Linked DNA regions of Homo sapiens: all the other regions are linked to region 4. The links are contacts of gene promoters, found by promoter capture Hi-C in blood cells and fetal thymus (Javierre and others, 2016). All regions are on one chromosome and are shown on one strand. Each heading gives the region's core, a stretch centred on a gene start or on the middle of the fragment in contact. The rest is flanking DNA. Distances are from core to core; before and after follow the strand shown.

Evidence for each region. Contacts are between HindIII fragments. The CHiCAGO score rates a contact against its expected background, and 5 or more counts as called.
Region 1: a contact is called between a fragment that was not itself captured here and the fragment with the promoter of CHRNA1 in region 4, in 1 of 17 cell types (total CD4 T cells). The highest score is 5.1, in total CD4 T cells.
Region 2: a contact is called between a fragment that was not itself captured here and the fragment with the promoter of CHRNA1 in region 4, in 5 of 17 cell types (naive CD8 T cells, naive CD4 T cells, total CD8 T cells and 2 more). The highest score is 8.0, in naive CD8 T cells.
Region 3: a contact is called between a fragment that was not itself captured here and the fragment with the promoter of CHRNA1 in region 4, in 2 of 17 cell types (M1 macrophages and naive CD4 T cells). The highest score is 5.8, in M1 macrophages.
Region 5: a contact is called between a fragment that was not itself captured here and the fragment with the promoter of CHRNA1 in region 4, in 1 of 17 cell types (naive CD8 T cells). The highest score is 7.4, in naive CD8 T cells.

Annotation. Positions count from the first base shown.
Region 1 is chr2:175,126,184-175,130,163 of GRCh38, reverse strand. It overlaps ATF2 (activating transcription factor 2), which reads left to right. Exons shown (of 14, transcript NM_001880.4): 4 at 1-26. Among named protein-coding and RNA genes, the nearest start is that of MIR933, 40 kb to the left of the region's middle. The HindIII fragment of the contact is 3,977 bases long and covers 1-3,850 here.
Region 2 is chr2:175,109,926-175,113,827 of GRCh38, reverse strand. It overlaps ATF2 (activating transcription factor 2), which reads left to right. Exons shown (of 14, transcript NM_001880.4): 10 at 2,174-2,260. Among named protein-coding and RNA genes, the nearest start is that of MIR933, 56 kb to the left of the region's middle. The HindIII fragment of the contact is 1,567 bases long and covers 1,262-2,828 here.
Region 3 is chr2:175,064,445-175,068,056 of GRCh38, reverse strand. No RefSeq gene overlaps it. Among named protein-coding and RNA genes, the nearest start is that of CHN1, 61 kb to the right of the region's middle. RefSeq lists a silencer at 2,368-2,600. The HindIII fragment of the contact is 4,524 bases long and covers 1-3,612 here.
Region 4 is chr2:174,762,764-174,766,748 of GRCh38, reverse strand. It overlaps CHRNA1 (cholinergic receptor nicotinic alpha 1 subunit), which reads left to right and starts at 2,277. Exons shown (of 9, transcript NM_000079.4): 1 at 2,277-2,397. The coding sequence starts at 2,355. RefSeq lists an enhancer at 1,777-2,276. The HindIII fragment of the contact is 3,214 bases long and covers 74-3,287 here.
Region 5 is chr2:175,042,807-175,046,555 of GRCh38, reverse strand. No RefSeq gene overlaps it. Among named protein-coding and RNA genes, the nearest start is that of CHN1, 39 kb to the right of the region's middle. The HindIII fragment of the contact is 6,585 bases long and covers 1-3,749 here.

The sequences.
Region 1 (3,980 bases), core at 613-3,112, 360 kb before region 4:
TATGTACTGCGCCTGGATGTGGCCAGGTAATATATAAATTACTTTAAATTATTTTGTATATTTCCACTTATTAAAACATTGATGATATAATATGTTATCACTAAAAGTATTTTCTTACAGTATTCTGTAAAATTTTAGAGTTAGGATGAAAAAAAACCCAGGAAACTTTTGGCAAGAAATTCTGCTTTTTCTTCAATAGTGCAACTGAGCTTTAGAAAGTATAATCCAATACGGAGGGGGGGAGCATTATATCTTGTAATGGAAAGGTGGAAATCCTACACAAAAGTCCAAGATATAAAAGTATAATTTGACTGTTATTGGTTGAAAATTATTGATAAACTGCCTAATTAGAAATCAGATCGATATTATATGAGAATTATTTTGCTTACTGAACTTTTATGAAATTAACTGGTATTTACTTCTTAGAGTATCACTAATGTATTAATGTTGTTAAGCCTAACGTCTTTAATATTGGGCATGTGGCAGCAGTTTCAGAAAGTAATATTTTAGTTTTTTTTTAACAACCCACTAAATTATTAATCTATTCCTATTATACTTATCTTAAAATAACTATAGACAGGAAGAATTAAAGAATAAATGTAATGTATAGCAAAGTTACAAAGTACTTAAATATACGGACCATAAATGTAAGTAAGCATTATTCTTTCTCATTTATTTTCTTTAGTTGATATTTTAAATTGAAATATAATTGACTTACAATAAACTGTATATACTTAAAATGTACCATTTGATAAGTTTTAACACACGTATACTCAAAACCATCAGCACAATCAGGATAGTAAACATACAATCACCCAAAAGTTTCCTCATGCCTATTTATAATTCCTCTTATCCCACCTACCTTCATCAATTACTGGTCTGCCTTCTGTTACTGTAGATTTGTTTGCATTTTCCAGAATTTTGTATAAATGGAATCATATAGTATGTATGTTTTTTCACTCCACATAATTCAATATTTCTCCATGTTATGTTACCAATAGTTAATTCCTTTTCATTGAGATATAATATTTCATTATCTCACAATTTATCTGTTCATCTGATGGATATTGGTTTACTTCTATTTTTTAGTTGTTAATAAAGCTGATGTGAATACTTGTGTACAAGTCTTTTTATGGACACATGCTTTCATTTCTCTTGGAGGAATACATGGGAGTATAATGATGGGATTATCTGATAGATATATGTTTGACTTTTTAGGAAATTACCAGGCTGCTTTTTTCATGTGTTTGTTGGCCATTTGTATCCCTTACATTTTGTGAAGTATCTTTTTAAATCTTTTGCTCATTTTAAAAAATTGGGTTGTCTTTTTATTATTGAGTTGTAGGAGTTCTTTATATATCCTGGATACCAGTCCTTGTCAGAGGCTTCTTTTTCTGTGGTTTGCATCTTAATTTTCGTAATAATATCTTTTGATGAGCAGATGTTTCTAATTTTAATGAATCCTAATGTATTAATTTTTTTCCTCTTATGGTTGTTGCTTTCTGTGACTTGTCAGAAATTTTTGCTTGCCTTTAGATTATGAAGGTATTCTCCTTTGTTTTCCTCTAAAACTTACTGTTTCATTTAGATTTCTCTTTAATCTTGAATTAATTTTTGTGTATGGTGTGAGATAGGGGTTGAAGCTAACTTTTTTTTTTTTTTTGAGACGGAATTTCGCTCTTGTTGCCTAGGCAGGAGTGCAATGGCACAATCTCGGCTCACCACAATCTCCGCCTCCCAGGTTAAAGTGATTCTCCTGCCTTAGCCTCCCAAGTAGCTTGGATTACAGGCATGCGCCACCACACCTGGCTAATTTTGTATTTTTAGTAGAGATGGGGTTTCTTCATGTTGGTCAGGCTGGTCTTGAACTCCTGATCTCAGGTGATCCGCCTGCCTCGGCCTCCCAAAGTGCTGAGATGATAGGCGTGAGCCACCGCGCCCAGCCAGTTGAAGCTAAGTTTTTAAAAAATACGGGTTTAGATATCCCAGCATAATTTCCTGAAAAGATTTTTCTTTCCTCATTAAACTGCTTTGGCTCCTTTAATGAAAATCAAATGATTGTGTAAGTGTGGGTCTGTTTCTGGGCATTATATTCTGTTCCATTCATCACTCTGTCAACTTTTATGCTAGTACCACACCATTTTGATTACTCTAGCTTTACAGTTAGTGTTCCAGTCAGTTAGGGTAAATTCTCCAATTTAGTCCTCATTTTTCAAGATATTTTTGGTTAGTCTCTTAAGTTTTAGTCATTCTGGTGAGGGTTTAATGGTATCTCATTGTAATTTTGATTTATGTGATATTTAATGATGTAGAGCGAGGTAAACATAGGAGTTATCAGGGTTAATGCAATTTTAGATAGGTTAACCAGGGAATGTGCCTCTGCTAAGGTGACATTTGAACAAAGACCTGAAGAAAATGCAGGAGCAAACCTTGTATGTTTCTAGACTAAAGGAGCAGCAAATGTAAAAGCTCTAGGGAGGGAATGTGTATGGTGTGTTTAAGAACAGAAACGCAACTACTGTGGCTGGAGCATATAATGACCAACAGAGAGAAGGTTAAGAGAGGAGGTCAGAGGAGACAGAAAAAAAGACATATCCTATGATAAGGTGTTTGGGTTTTATTCACTGAGCAGTGAAAAGCCACTGCTGAGTGGTCACAGGGAGACAAGAGGCTGACAGCAGTCCAGGTGAGAGATGATGGTGGTTTGAATTAGGTGTTAACAGTGGACACAGAGAGAGAAATAGGCTAATTTGACATATGTTTTGGAGATATATTTGACATATATATTTTTCTGTAAAGTTAAGAGAGCTAAAAACTACAGTTCTCTTTGCACCTAGAATTCTGCATATGATTTTAGGTTTCACCAACCAAATTTACTCTTTCTGGTAAATCAGATTTACTTTAACTTTTTTTTTTTTTTTTCTCGAGACAGGGTCTCACTCTGTCACCCGGGCTGGAGTGCAGTAGCATGATCATGACACACTGAAGCCTCAACCTCCTGGGCTCAGGTGATCCTCCCACCTCAGCCTCCAGAGTAGCTGGGACCACAGGTGCTCACCACCACACCTGACTAATTTTTTGCTTGGTTTTTTTTTTTGGATACAGGATCTCTCAATGTTGTCCAGGCTGTTCTCAAACTCCTGGGCTCAAGCCATCTGCCTACCTTGGCCTCCCAGTGTGCTGAGATTGTAGACATGAGCCACTTCGCCTGACCCACTTTACTTTTTGGATTTGGTACTGAGTTAAATGGAATGAGAGATAGTATTACTCAAATCATCCATTTTGCTGGCTTGGAGTGAACAAACAACTTGATTCTGTAATCCCTGAAGTACAGCTAATGCAATATGTGTTTCTAGGGCCAGCCTTTGGACAAAGACTAGTTTTGACATGTTCTAGATATCATTCTTGGAGACTCAAAAAAGCCCTTTCCTGATTCTCTTCTGCTTAAAATAGTTAGAATGGGTTTTGTGATTGAATTCTTACTAATACACATGCCATTTTAAATAAAAGCATTACAATTAAACAGAAGAAAAACTGATTGCTGAACATTAGAATTTGTGTGTGTATGTGTATCATAAGGAATTGTTAAAAGACCTCTGTAACATTAACTATATATGTGAAAAACATTAAGAAGTTAGGGAATTATTTTTTTAGGTTTCCTACTATTAAAGGAGTTAACATGCATACTTTCTACCTCCACTTCCCTATCCCCTAATGTCTGATAATTACTCTTATTTTTTCCATTGTCGAGGTTTGTAATACTTACATTTTGTCTTATCCATAATTCCCATATTTGCTTAGTTTTACTTCTGTATCACAATAGTATAGATGGAAGGGTGAAAGCTAAGCTTTAGGGCACCTCTGGTGTTTAAAAGTCAGAAAGAGGAGGAGAATGTAGCACAGAAGATTAAGAAGTAGCAACCAGTGAGGAAAATTGAATCTTGAAAGTTAGAAAAAATATTTCAAAGTAAGAGAAACAA
Region 2 (3,902 bases), core at 796-3,295, 350 kb before region 4:
TAGCTATTTTTTCTCTTCTCCCCAAAACCTTAATTTTTTTTTTATACTGAGATCTTCTTATTCAACCCATATCAATTTGACTGGACTTGTAGCATTCAAATATTAACACAGATTTCAAATTTTAGAAAGATATTTGTACTAGAATACTTGTCAGGTAACTCTGTGGTATTTCTATTAGTATGGAAATTGTTTATAAAGACACACTCTGAATTTTTGTGGTCAAGTAGGGTTTGTAGAATCTTTGATAGCCCAGCATGTTAAAATGTAAATGTTCTAGAAAAATAATCTTTCACTTTCCCTGTGAAAAGACCCCGCAAAAAAGTTTTTTGAGGGGTGTGTTAAATATATAAATTTTGAAAGACGTAGACAAAATAGTTAACTATCTACTTATGATATTTAATAGTTTGGCCAGGCATGGCAACTCATGCCTGTTGTAATCCCAGCGTATTGGGCGGCTGAGGTAGGAGGATTGTGTGAGCCCAGGCGTTTGAGACTGCAGTGAGCTATGGATCCTGCCTGGATGACAGGGCAAGACCCCAAGTCAAAAAAAAAAAAAAAGTAATAGTTTAATGAACATTTAAAAACACATTGTTTGGAATAATGTGTGTTAGAAAATTGCTTTTTTCTTACTTACATTACATAAAACAGTTTTATTCAAACAAACTCTTCAGTTATGTCTTTGACATTCAAATTTTCATCCTGAGAACCACTTTTTGAGACATCTAGCACAGTTTCCAGAACACAGTATTTTCTTTTTCATCTAAATCATTTACGATATTACTTTATGAATCTCTCTATTATTCTCTCCCTGGAAATCTTACACCAAGCATTAGGTACTTATTTATGTAATAAAAAGATAGTTTTTTCTTTTACCTTCTAAGATGCTTGTTACTGATCAGTACAGTGTAATCATTTACAGTGTAGCTTTTAAAAATTATTTTTAGGCCAAGTGCAGTGGCTCATGCCTGTAATCCCAGCACTTTGGGAGACCAGGGTGGGTGGCTTGCCTAAGTCCAGGAGTTCAAGACCAGGCTGGGCAACATGGCAAAACCCCATCTCTACAAAAAATAAACACAAATTAGCCAGTTGTGATGGAAGCACCTGTAGTCTCAGCTACTCAGAAGGCTGAGGTGGGAGGATCACTTGAGCCTGGAGGTTGAGACTGTAGTTAGCCGAGATTGCACCACTGCATTCCAGGCTGGGCAACAAAGTAAGACCTTGTCTCAAAAATAATAAAAAATAAAACTTATTTTTAAAAGCTTACTTATAGTAACATTCCAACACTTTCGGTGAGATTACCCCCAAGAATATTACTAGGATTAATGTTTGATATTTATATCTTTTTTTAATTAACTAATTCTTCCACGTGATCTTTCAAACTATCCAAAATTAGCATTGATTGACGTAATTTCAAGATAATGTGCCTTCTTTAAAAAGAACTTTGTTCAAAATGCATTATTTGAGAGACTTTGTAAGGACTCAGATATAAGGTATCTGCTTCCTCTTTACTGAGAATATTTTTTTGAGGAGGGAAACATTCTTGCCTTGTTTTTGAGATTCTGATTATCCTGTTACATGTACCTAGTGATGAAAGCAACCGGAAATGAAAGAAAAGATATGCTTTATTTATACAGTAACTGTGTTCACTCAGTGTTAGGTTTAAGAAAAAAAAGGAAAAAACCAAAATGGTAAAACCTGTTACAGATTATTTCAGAAATTATTACAGTGTGTTATTTGTTATTATGTGGTATGTATAAGAAAATTCATTGTATATATTTTTAGAAAAGCAAAATTCATTGTTGAAATTATTTTTTATGCCTAAGTGTCACAAGTTTTGACATTCTTCCTTTCATATTCAAAATGGAAGTTTGACAGATCTTTGAGAATTTTTGCATTAATCACTTTGAATATTATGAATTTCTAACAGGGACCATTAAGAAAGAAATTGTAGAAACTGAAAATTAGGAAAGCACACGTCTCAGAAATTGACAACTTTTGAAGGATAAGTCAGGATATAAGACCAAATAAGGATTTGGTATAGAGATAAAATCAGCTGGTGATAAATTTACAATGTTCTGATTCTTAAAGTCTCAAATTATTACAACAGCAGTAAAGTACAAATCTCATTTTGAATATATTCTCTAGCAATTATTTTTCCTTATGTCATGCATAGCTCGTTCGACCAGTCACCATGGTGCCTAGTGTTCCAGGAATCCCAGGTCCTTCCTCTCCCCAACCAGTACAGTCAGAAGCAAAAATGGTAAGCCAGATTTTATTTGTTCTGTACATTGCTTGAGGCTGTTTTGAATTAATGTTTTCACTAAAGCCTGCTTCAAATGCACAATTTAGATCACATTTTTATAAAGTTACGGACTGTTTTATACTATAGATAAACCACAAAATTTGAAAAAAGAAATCTTCCTTTAGCATAGTGAGTAGTTAGTGATACTTTAAAATTAGTGGCAGATTAGAAGTTCTGTTTCTTGTCACTTGTTGTTTGTCTGGCTTTTTCTTGTGGCTTTTTCTCCTCCTAGTGGAAAATAGGAGTATTACATCTGAAACTAGATGTGATCATCTGAAGGCAGTGCTGCTAATAATGATGAGTGGTTTTAACAGTATTAAAAAGAATTCTGAAATAGTGTACAAGTTAGCAAACATGATAAAACCATTTTTTTCTGTTGTGCTGTTTGGATGCTATTAAATTAATGTTTAGATGTGTATTTTAATTTTAATTTTAATCCTAACTCCACTATTCACTACCTTTAATTAAGCAACTGTAACTTTCCTGAGATTGCATTTCCTCATCTGTAAAATAAAAAGATTAAGCTTTGGTTTCTGGGGTACTTCTTAACCCTAAATCCTATAAACGTTCTAATTTTCTTAGTAGAAGATCTGACGATTCTATTTTTAAAGAAAATCAGGGCCGGGCGCAGTGGCTCACACCTGTAATCCCAAGCACTTTGGGAGGCTGAGGTGAGCAGATCACCTAAGGTCAGGAGTTCGAGAGCAACCTGGCCAACATGGTGAAACCCCATCTCTACTAAAAATACAAAAATTAGCCGAGCGTGGTGGTGCATGCCTGTAATCCTAGCTACTCGGGTGGCTGAGGCACAAGAATTTGCTTGAACCCGGGAGGCCGAGGTTGCAGTGAGCCAGCATCGCACTATTGCACTCCAGCCTGGGTGACAGAGTGAAACTCCATCTCAAAAATAAAATAAAATAAAATAAAAATCAGTGTAATTCTCCTTGCTGTGTTATAATACAATAATGTCAGTTAATTAATAACATCGATTAATTGGGTAGATGTTAACGTTCTATATCATAATAGGGCTAACAACAGCAATTAATTAATGTATCCTTAGGAAATCAATAGATTAGTAGTTATTAGACACCTTCTATTTGCTTCAGTTATTTGCTAGGCACTATACTAAATACAAATTTTTACATGCTAAAACATATTGCAGAGCTGAATTTATTTATTTATTTATTTTTTGAGATGGAGTCTCGCTCTCTCACCCAGGCTGGAGTACAGTGGCACAATCTCAGCTCACTGCAACCTCCGCCTCCTGGGTTCAAGCAATTCTCCTGCCTCAGCCTCCTGAGTAGCTGGGATTACAGGTGTGCACCACCATGCCTGGCTAATTTTTGTATTTTTAGTAGAGACGGGTTTTCACCATGTTGGTCAGACTGGTCTCGAACTCCTGACCTCGTGATCCCCCCTCCCCAGCCTCCCAAAGTGTTGGGATTACAGGCGTGAGCCACCACACCCGGCCTGAAAAATTTTTACTGCTATTCTCCATTAGTGCAGACAATCAGTCAGAAATTTGCACAGGACACCCTGTTTTAGCAATAAAACTTACATATTATCTGAATGAACAGCAGTTGGTTGAAGAGTATAAAAA
Region 3 (3,612 bases), core at 823-3,322, 300 kb before region 4:
CTTTTCAATTTCTTGCATCAGCATGTGATAGTTTTCAATATCGCAATCTTTCACATCTTAAATTAATTCCTAGGTATTTATTTGTGGTTATTGTAAGTGGTATTACATTTTTTATTTCCTTTTCAGATTGTTCATCACTGCTGGCATATAGAAATGCTACTGATTCTTATATGTTGATGTTGTGTCCTGCAATTTTACTAAATTTATCAGTCCTAATAATTTTCTGGTGTAGTCTTTAGGTTTTATTAAATATAAGATCATAGCATCTGCAGACAAAGATAATTTGACTTCTGCCTTTCAAATTTGGATGCTCTTTATTTCTTGTCTGATTACTCTAGCTAGGACTTCCAGTCCTATGTTAAATAACAGTGTTGACAGTGGGCATCCTTGTCATGTTCCAGATCTCAGAGAAAAGGCTTTCAGCTTTCCCCCATTCTGTATGATACTGGCTGTGGGTCTTTCATATATGGCTTTTATTATGTTGAAGTATGTTCCTTCTATACCCAGTTGTTTGAGGGTTATTATCATGAAGGGATGTTGAATTTTATCAAATGCTTTTTCATCATCAATTGAAATGATCATATGGTTTTTATCCTTCATTCTGTCCATGTGATGCATCACATTGATTGATTTGCATATGTTAAACCATGCTTGCACCCCAGGAATAAATCCCACTTGGTCATGTTGAATGATCTTTTAATACATTACTGAATTTGGTTTGCTATTATTTTGTTGAGGATTTTTGCATCAATATTCATCAGACATATTGGCTGGTAGTTTTCTTTTTATGTTGTATGTGTGTCTAGTTTTGGTATCAGGGTAATACTGGCCTCATAGAATGAGTTTAGAAGTATTTCCTTCTCTATTTTTTGGAATAGTTTGAGTAGGATTGGTATTAGTTCTTCTTTGAACATTTGGTAGAATTCAACAGTGAAGCCATCAGGCCCTGGGCATTTCTTTACTGGGAGACTTTATTACAGCTTCAATCTTTTTACTTGTATATTGATATTTTTATTCAGGTTTAGGAAATTCTCTGTTATCCTGCTGAATAAACTTTCTACCCCTATCTCTGTCTCTACCTCCTCTATAAGGACAATAACTCTTAGATTTGCCCTATTGAGGCTGTTTTCTAGATCCTGTAGGCATTCCTCATTGGTTTTTTATCTTTCTTCTTTTTTCTCCTCTCTGTATTTTCAAATTAAGCTCACTAATTCTTTCTTCTGCTTGATCATTTCTGCTATTAAAAGACTCGTGTTCTTCAGTATGCCAATTGCATTTTTCAGCTCCAGCATTTCTGCTTGTTTCTGTTTAATCATTTTAATCTCTTTGTTAAATGTATCTGATAGAATTCTGAATTCCTTTTCTGTGTTATCTTGAATTTCTTTGCATTTCCTCAAGCATGGCTATTTTGAATTCTCTGAAAGGTCAGAGAATATCTTTGTTTCTCCAGGATTGCTCCCTATTGCCTTTTTTAGTTCATTTGGTGAGGTCATGTTTTCCTGGATGGCGTTGATGCATGTAGATGTTCTTCAGCGTCTGGGCATTTTAGAGTTAGGTATTTATTGTAGACACTCAGTCTGGGCTTGTTTGTCCTTTTTGGGAACACTTTCAAGATATTTGAAAGGACTCGAGTGTTGTGATCTAAGCTGTACCTGTTTTAGGGGGCACCCCAAGCCCAGTAATGCTGTGGTTCTTGCAGACTTGTAGAGGTACTGCCTTAATGCTCTTGGATGAGATCCAGAAGACCTCTCTGGATTACCAGGTGGAGACTGTTGTTTTCTTAATTTTTCCTACGTGAACGGAGTCATTCTCTCTGTTCTGAGCCATATGGAACTGGGGGTGGTGTGACACAAGCACTCCTGTGGCCACAAACACTAGGACTGCACTGGGTCAGATCTGAATCTAGCACAGCACCAGGTCTCACCCAACCTTTCTATAACCTCTCATTGGCTATGACCTATGTTTGCTCAAGGCCCTGGAGCTCTAAAATCAGCAGGTGGCAAAGCTATTCAGGCCTCTGTCCTTCTCTTCAGGGTAGCAAGTTAGTTCACCCAGGCCCTGGGCTTGTCCAGAGGTGCCATCCAGGAGCCAGGGACTGGAGTCAAAACTGTTAGAAGTCTACCTGCCAAGACTGGTGTTCTATTGTATTGTGGCTCAACTGGCACTCAAACCATAAGACACAGTCCTTCACACTCTTCCCTACCCATTCCAAAGGCAAAAGAGCCTCACCAAGTGGCCATTGCCACCACAGGCCCACAGGGAGTACCTCAAGACTGCCACCAATGTTCCCTTAAGGGCCAAGGGCTCTTAGGTGAGATTGTGATGAATGCTGCCTTCCCTGGGACTCACCCTTCAGGGCAGTGGGCTCCCCTCTGGCTGAGGCAGGTCCAGAAATGCCATCCAAGAGCCACGTCCTGGAATTGGGGACCCCAAGACCCTACTTGGTGCTCTACCCCACTATGGCTGAGCTGGTATCTAAGGTGGAAGACAAACCCCCCCTTTGCTTTTCCATCCACTTTCTCAAGTGGAAGGAATCTCACCCCATAACCCCATAGCCACCACAGCTGGGAATGTGCTGTACTTGCCTGAAGCCAGCAAGTTTCAAGAGGCTCACTGAAGGCCCTCAACATAGTACCTGAGTATCGCTGCTGGTTATTCAGGGCCCAAAGGCTCTTCAGTTAGTAGGATTCTGCCAGGACTGGGTCCTTCCTTTCATGGAAGCATGTTCCCTTCTGGTCCAGAGTATGTCTAGAAATGTATCTGGGGGCTAGGGCCTGGAAACGGGGCCTCATGATTCTGACCAATACCCTATCTAGCTGTAGCTGAGCTGGGATCCAAGACGCAAGGCAAAGTCTTACCCACTCTTCCCTCTCCTCTCCTTAAGTGGAGGAAATGGGGTTGTTTTGGAGCTTTGAGCAACCTGGGGTTAGGGAAGGGATGATGCCAGCACTCACACAGTCACCCTGGCTGTGTCTCAGTAGGTTGTGTTCCCTGCTGTTCATTGTCTCTGGGCCCAGTTCAGCACTAAGATTGGCCTAGGAGTTGCATTCCTTGTGGCCTAGACTGCCTTTCAAGTGTTATCTGGAGCCCCAGAGCACTTCACTCTGCGGTGGTGAGGCTTTTGGGAACTTAAGTTCAGGCCACTGGGATCGGCGATTCCTCTGGCTAGGGCTGCTTTCAATGCTCCCTTCGTGGGCGGGCATCAGCTGAGTTTGGGTCAGTTTTGTTTTCTAATTTTTGGTTTTTATGAAGGTGTTTTATTTTGTGTGTGTGTAGACAGTTGTTAAATTGGTGCCCTTGCTGTGGGGATAATCAGTGGAGATTTCTAGTCTGCCATCTTGCCCTGCCCCTACTCCCCAAATTTTTAATGTTATTTATTTAGCAGAATTTAAGATGGTAGCATTGTCTATTAGGAGTTTCTCATGAAGCAAATACATTATATGATGTTTATGAGGAAATGAGAAAATTTGTGAATGCCATTATCTTTTTTCTTTTGTGACAGAGTCTCACTCCTTTACCCAGGCTGGACATGATCTCAGCTCACTGCAACCTCCACCTCCCGGGTTCAAGCAATACTCCTGCCTTAGCCTCCTGAGTAGCTGGGATTACAGG
Region 4 (3,985 bases), core at 1,028-3,527:
AACAACCAAAACTTTTGTAGCCTGGGTTAATGAACTCTTTGGCAATATAATTCCTTCAAATACTGAGTAAGCTTCTGCAATATTTGTTTCCATCATTCCCATGTGCCTATATACACACATGGTCACAATTCTTTAATCTGATTAATTTCTTTGCATCCTAACCACTATACCTCTCTCCTTCAACTTAATAGCAGCCATCTTGAAGCCATCTGAAAAAAAAAATAGATTTGGCTGTGAAGAAAGCACCCTTAAAGTGATCTTTGCTGTGGTGATGAAACTGCCTGTTTAAAGAGAAGTCTTAACGGGCTTTGGTTGCTCAAAGCCTTTATTCCATGTTTTCACTTACTCTTTTGAAGTTCAAAACAGAAGACTCCACATTTCTGGACTCATTCTATTTCTTTTCATTTCTGCTCTTGAACCAGCACATTTTTGCCTGAGCTCAGCTCTTCCTTGTACTGACTTGCTAAACAAAGCCAGAAAGAGCCATGGTGCACTAACTTTGGGTTTACCAGCCTCTATTCTGGGAGCTACAGGCTCAGTAGACACATTGTTCACCAAGTAATTGAGGACAACAGTTTATGAAATGATTTGATACCATATAACATGGGTCTTCATATTTTCAGCCTCCAGTATCAATTTTCTTGCCTTCTGCTGCAGTGCTACATATTTTAGAATTTATTTTTAACCTCAGGATACTAGTGCAAAGGATTACATATTTTATTAATTACGGAACACTAGCTGCTGTACAAATAAACCCAAGGATTTTGATGGCTCAGCACGATGCATGTTTTGTTTTCATTGAAATAGTGCTGGGTGGTGAGCAGGTGGATAGGGGGTCCCCCTCCATGCAGTCATTCAAGGATTCAGAATGTCAAAAGCAACACCACCTTCAGAACATGGTTTCTAAGGTTAACTTTGGGACCATGTCCATTCTAGCCGGTCAGAAGACTAGAAGGGCGGGGCTGAGCTCTGGTAGGTTTGTGAGTCTGAGAACATTTTTCCACTCATGCCACTGGCCAGAGGTCAGTCCCATGGCTCCATTTAGATGGAAGGGGCTGGTCAGAGGGTGGGGGTTGTATTTCTGCCACGGGGCTATTCCATGGAAGGGAGAGAACCAAATTTTTTTTTAGCAAACAGTTAACTGATCTCCCACAGTTTAAACAAAAAATATAAATAGTATGAGCTTGCAGCTCTCTCCTCTACCCTCCAAGCCCCTTCTCTAATGATTTGTTTGGATCCACTGGAATGAGAGGATCTGTCAGGATGTTGTTGTGGGCTTGAGGTGAGAGGACCTTTCTCACCTAGTTCCATGTGGGAAGGAGGCCTGGAAGGAACAGGCAGGGTACCTTTAAGTAACTGTCTCCTTCTGGGAACTCACCTCACACCCTGCAAAGAAGCACAGCTAGGGTAACAATACTTCTCAGACTGAGAAATTACTAACTGCTGGTTTTTAGGATGTTTTTCAAGCAAGATAATTGAAAAGCTGAACCACTCTGCTCTTTGCTTCCCTGAGTGAGAGTAGGCAGAGGGACGGATGGAAGGAGGCAGGAACCCGGAACGACTGCTGATGCGGTGGGACACTTTTTCCCAATAATTACTCTTCGCTTGAATCACAGTGCATAGGACGTGGGCAATTTGCTCCAGCTAATGGTTCGTGTGGGATAGGTATTGCCTGATACAGAGGCAGGGGTTGGAACAGCCACTCTGGGGGCCAGTAAAGCCAGTTTTATGGAAGAAGCTGTCTTTGTTAAAAACCAAACCCAATCAACGTGGGGGCTTCCCAGCAGCAGACTCAACACCAGCTACACTTTTCTGAAATCCAGGCAGTCAGAAAAGCCCCCGGCACCCTCAGCCTAACACTGAAGCAGAGGAAATGAAACTGAAGCCATGTTTGCAGAATGTGGATTTTTGTGGTTTAGGACAAACAGCTGACTATCTACTCAGACCAAATGACCCTAATCAAGTCAACCCACAGAGATGAGGTTCTGGTTTACACAAAAGAGAGGCAGTTTGCTCACCATTTAAAATAATTCCTTCCTTCCTATACATTTTTTTTTCATTAAGATCTGACTACTGGTGCATTTAAAATATAATGCAGTTCATACTCAGCTTGTCAAGGGTAAGCAATTGTGTAAAGTGAGGCATATCTGTAATGGTGTACAGTCCCAGTAACTCCCTGGGCTCCAGGGCTGAGGGCAGCCCAGCTGTCGCTCCCACAAACAGGTGGTGTAAAACAATAGCTCTAGTGAGCCGACTCGCTTTCCAAACCCTCCAGCAGACAAGCACCCAGCCAGAGTGCCAGTGAGAAGCACAGGCCACCACTCTGCCCTGGTCCACACAAGCTCCGGTAGCCCATGGAGCCCTGGCCTCTCCTCCTGCTCTTTAGCCTTTGCTCAGGTAAGTGCTGGGGTCAGGGGTGGGGAGAGGGCTCTCCTTTGAGGCTAAAGTGCTGGAGGCCCCCAAATCAAAGTCTTGCTTCTTTGATGAGACCACAGAATGGCAGAGCCTCCCCAACCAGGGGCTGCTCTGTCAGTTTCTTCCTGATGTTAGCTTGATTGAGTTTTTGGATAAAGATTTTTAGTTTGCCTTATCTAATTAAAATAGAAACTGCCTGGTCAAAGACTTCAAGATAGACACGCATGTCTCTCCCTCCATCATGCCTGGCAGCCGACTCATCCCTCTGAACACTCGGCACCATTTGTAGGACCTGGACCACTTGTGGATCATGGTAGTGTCCGGGGGTTCATATTTAAACAACTATGGATACTTAGAACAGTGCCTTATAATCACATACAATGGAGTTAACAAGTCCCTTTACTGCTCCAGGAGAATTCTAATAATAAAGAGGACTGATTGACAGCTACATGTGCTGGAGATAGAAACCAGTTAATAATCATAACTAAACTCTCTCCACAGAGACAAATATTTTTTAATTTTTTCAAAATTTCTGAAGTTAAAAAAAATTCCATATGAATACATTCCTACCTACTTTTTTTTTTTAAGATGTTACTATATATAGGTTTGGGTTTGAATTGAAACTATAAAACCTTGCACAGCATTTGACCTGCATTCTACTCTGGAATGTGTCCTAACACAGCAGCTGAAACACCATCCTGAATCCCAGACTTCCGCTAGAGGGAAACAGGAGATGTTTGCTGATTGCTTCACATAAAAGTTTACTGGTGATATCATCCCAACTGAGAAACAAGGTGGCTGACATCCTGTGATTTTTCATTTCCAATATTGCTCTGAAAAACACAGGCCTTCTGGTCAAGAGGCAAAAAGCTTTATTATTAATTTTTTTCAATATCAGAGTTGAGTGAAAGAGCCTAAACTCAGATAAATTATATCATGTGGGATTTGGACTCTGTCCAGCCAAAGCTGGCCTGATGTGTGTGTGTGTGTGTGTGTGTGTGTGCGCGCGCGTGCACACACATGCGTGCACGCAAAACCACAGTCACAGGAAAATTCTTAAATGATATGCTTTAATGTAAACATCCTTAAGAGATCTCTTAGGATTTTGGTTATTGCTAACCAAAAATGCATGATTAGCTATTAAAGAAGTATGTGATATGTATTTAGGTCAAATCTCGAGTTTGCTGGCATTGATTTCCATGGGTGTTTTATAGAAATTTAGAGCTAGATCAGGCAGTCCAACATCCTCAATTTTTTATTACAAGGAAACTAAAGCTGACCTGCCCAAGGTCACTTAATTTATACATTTTGGAATGTGGTCAGTTGGAGACTTGGTTTATTACATGCACAGTCAGAAAACACAGCCTGAACTAGCCAAAGGTAGCAAGAGATACAGAATCAGGTTAAGATAATAATGATCCATGGGACTAGTAACAGTTCAAAATTTCTTTTGCCCAGCCCAGGGAGCTATTTCCTACATACAAATACAAATGGAACCAGTGTGGTACAAAAGGAACACTTTGAAACTGTGGTTGAGTTTCCCTTCTTAGAATCAGTCCTTTGTAGACAA
Region 5 (3,749 bases), core at 166-2,665, 280 kb before region 4:
CTCTAATTACCCTGTTTCCAAAACTAGACCAGGACATAACAAAATAAAAAACTATGGACCAATATCCCTGATGAACACTGACATAAAAATTTTCAACAAGTTATTAGCAAACCAAATCCACAGCACATTAAAAAGATTATTCACAGCCAGGCGCAGTGGCTCATGCCTGTAATCCCAGCACTTTGGGAGGCCGAGGCAGGCATATCACTTGAGGCCAGTAGTTTGAGACAAGCCTGGCCAACATGGCAAAACCCCATCTCTAGTAAAAATACCAACATTAGCCGAGCATGGTGACATGCACCTGTAGTCCCAGCTATTCGGGAGGCCGAGGCGGGAGAATCACTTGAACCCACGAAGGGAAGGTTGTGGTGAGCCGAGATTGCACCACTGCACTCCAGCCTGGGTGAAAGAGTGAGACTCCATCTCAAAAAAAAACAAAAAACAAAAAACAAAAAAAAGACAAATGGGATTACATCAAACTATAAAGATTTTGCACAGCAAAGGGAGATATTAACACAGTGAAGGGACAGGCCAAGTGTGGTGGCTCATGCCTGTAATCCCAGCACTTTGGGAGGCCACAGTGGGCAGATTGCTTGAGCTCAATTGTTCAAGACCAGCTTGGGCACAAGGCAAAACCCCATCTCTACTAAAAATACAAAAACTAGCTGGGTGTGGTGGCATGCACCTGTAGTTTCAGCTACTCAGGAGGCTGAAGTGGGAGGATCACCTGAGCCCATGAGGTTGAGTGAACTGTGTTCGCACAACTGCACTAATAATCAGGGAAATGTATTAATAAATAAAATCCACAATTAGATACCACCTCACCCCAGTTAGAATGGCTATTATCAAAAAGACAAAACAAGTATTGGCAAAGATATGGAAAAAAGGGAACACATACACATTATTTATGGGATTGTAAACTAGTATAGCCATTATAAAAAACAGTATGGGGGTTCCTCAAAAATTTAGAAATAGAATGACCATGTGATTCAGCAATCCCACTACTGGGTATATATCCAAAGGAAATGAAACCAGTATGTCGAAGAGATAGCTCCACTGCCATGCTTGTTGCAGCACTATTCACAATAGTCAAGACATAGAATCAACCTAACTGTCCATTGATGAATGGATAAAGAAAATGTGATATGACAATACTAGTCAGTCATAAAAAAGAGTGAAATACTGTTATTTATGACAACATGAATGAACCAGGACACAATGTTAAATGAAATAAACCAGACATAGAAAGATAAATACTGTGTGATCTCACTCACGTGGAATCTAAAACAAAAAAATTGATATTATAGAAACAGAGAGTAGAACAGTGGTTACCAGAGATGGGAGGAGAGAAAGGAGGAGGGGAGGGGAGGAAGAAGAAGAGGGAAATTTGTAGCACTAAATGCCTACATCAGAAACCTAGAAAAATCTCAAAATACCACCCTAATGTCACAATTAAAAGAGCTAGAGAGGCAAGAACGAACTAATCCAAAAGCTAGCAGAAGACAAGAAATAACTAAGATCCGAGAAGAACTGAAGGAGATAGAGACATGAAATACTTTCCAAAAGGTTAATGAATCCAGGAGCTGGTTTTTTGAAAAAATCAACAAAATTGATGAACCACTAGCTAGACTAATAAAAAAAGAAGAATCAAATAGACACAATGAAAAATGATAAAGGAGATATAACCACTGACCCCACAGAAATATAAACTACCATCAGAGAATACTATAAACACCTCTGTGCAAATAAATTAGAAAATCTAGAAGATATGGATAAATTTCTGGACACATACACACTCCCAAGACTAAACCAGGAAGAAGTTGAATGCTGAATAGACCAATAACAAGTTCTGAAATTGAGGCAGTAATTAATAACCTACCAACCAAAAAAAAGTCCAGGACCAGACTGATTCATGGTTGAATTCTACCATAAATACAAAGAGGAGCTGGTACCATTCCTTCTGAAACCATTCCAAACAACTGAAAAGGAGGGACTCCTCTGTAACTCATTTTATAAAGCCAGCATCATCCTGATACAAAACCTGGCAGAGGCACAACAAAAAAAAGGAAAACTTCAGGCCAAAATAGCTGATGAACAGCGATTCAGAAATCCTTAATAACATACTGGCAAACTGAATCCAGTAGCATATCAAAAAATGTATCCGCCACAGTCAGGTTGGCTTCATCCCTGGGATGCAAGGCTGGTTCAACATATGCAAATCAATAAATGTAATTATCACATAAACAGAACCAAAGATACAAACCACTTGATTATCTCAATAGATGCAGAAAAGGTCTTTGATAAAATTCAACATCGCTTCATGTTAAAAACGCTCAATAAACTAGATGGAACATATCTCAAAATAATAAGATATTTATGACAAACCCACAGCCAATATCATATTGAATGGGTAAAAGCTGGAAGCATTCCCTTTGAAAACTGGTACAAGACAAGGATGCCCTCTCTTACCACTCCTATTCAACGTAGTATTGGAAGCGCTGGCCTGGGCAATCAGGCAAGAGAACAACATAAAGAGTATTCAAATAGGAAAAGAGGAAGTTAAGTTGTCTCTGTTTGCAGATGACATGATTTTATATTTAGAAAACCCCATCATCTCAGCCCCAAAACTCCTTGAACTGACAAGCAACTTCAGCAAAGTCTCAGGATACAAAATCAATGTGCAAAAATCACAAGCATTCCTTTACACCAACAATAGGCAAGCAGAGAGCCAAATCATGAATGAACTTCCATTCACAATCGCTACAAAGAGAATAAAATACCTAGGAATACAGCTAACAAGGGATGTGAAGGACCTCTTCAAGGAGAACTACAAACCACTGATCAAGGAAATAAGAGAGAACACAAACAAATGGAAAAAGATTCCATCCTCATGGATAGGAAGAATCAATATCATGAAAACGACCATATTGCCCAAGGTAATTTATGGATTCAATGCCATTTCCATCAAACCATTGACATTCTTCGCAGAATTAAAAAAAAACTATTTTAAATTTTATATGGAATCAAAGAAGACCCCATATAGCCAAGACAATCCTAAGCAAAAAGAACAAAGCTGGGGGCATCACACTATCTGACTTCAAACTATACTACAGGACAACAGTAACCAAACCAGGATGGTACTGGTACCAAAACAGATATGTAGACCAACAGAGCAGAACAGAGACTTCAGAAGTAACACCACACATCTACAACCATCTGATCTTCAACAAACCTTACAAAAACAAGCAATGGGGAAAGGATCTCCTATTCAGTATATGATACTGGGAAAACTGGCTAACCATATGCAGAAAACTGAAACTGGACCCCTTCCTTACACCTTATGCAAAAATTAACTCAAGATGGATTAAAGGTTTAAATGTAAAACCCAAAACCGTAAAAATCCTAGAAAAAAATCCTAGGCAATACCATTCAGGACATAGGCATGGGCAAAGCCTTCATGACAAAAACGCCAAAAGCAACTGCAACAAAAGCCAAAATTGACAAATGGGATCCAATTAAACTAAAGAGCTTCTGCACAGCAAAAAAAGCTATCATCAGAGTGAACAGGCAACCTACAGAATGGGAGAAAATTTTTGCAATCTACCAATCTGACAAAGGTCTAATATCCAGAATTTACAAGGAACTTAAACATATTCACAAGAAAAAAACAACCCCATCAGAAAGTGGGCAAAGGATATGAATAGAGACTTCTTAAAAGAAGACATTTACACAGCCAACAAACATATCAA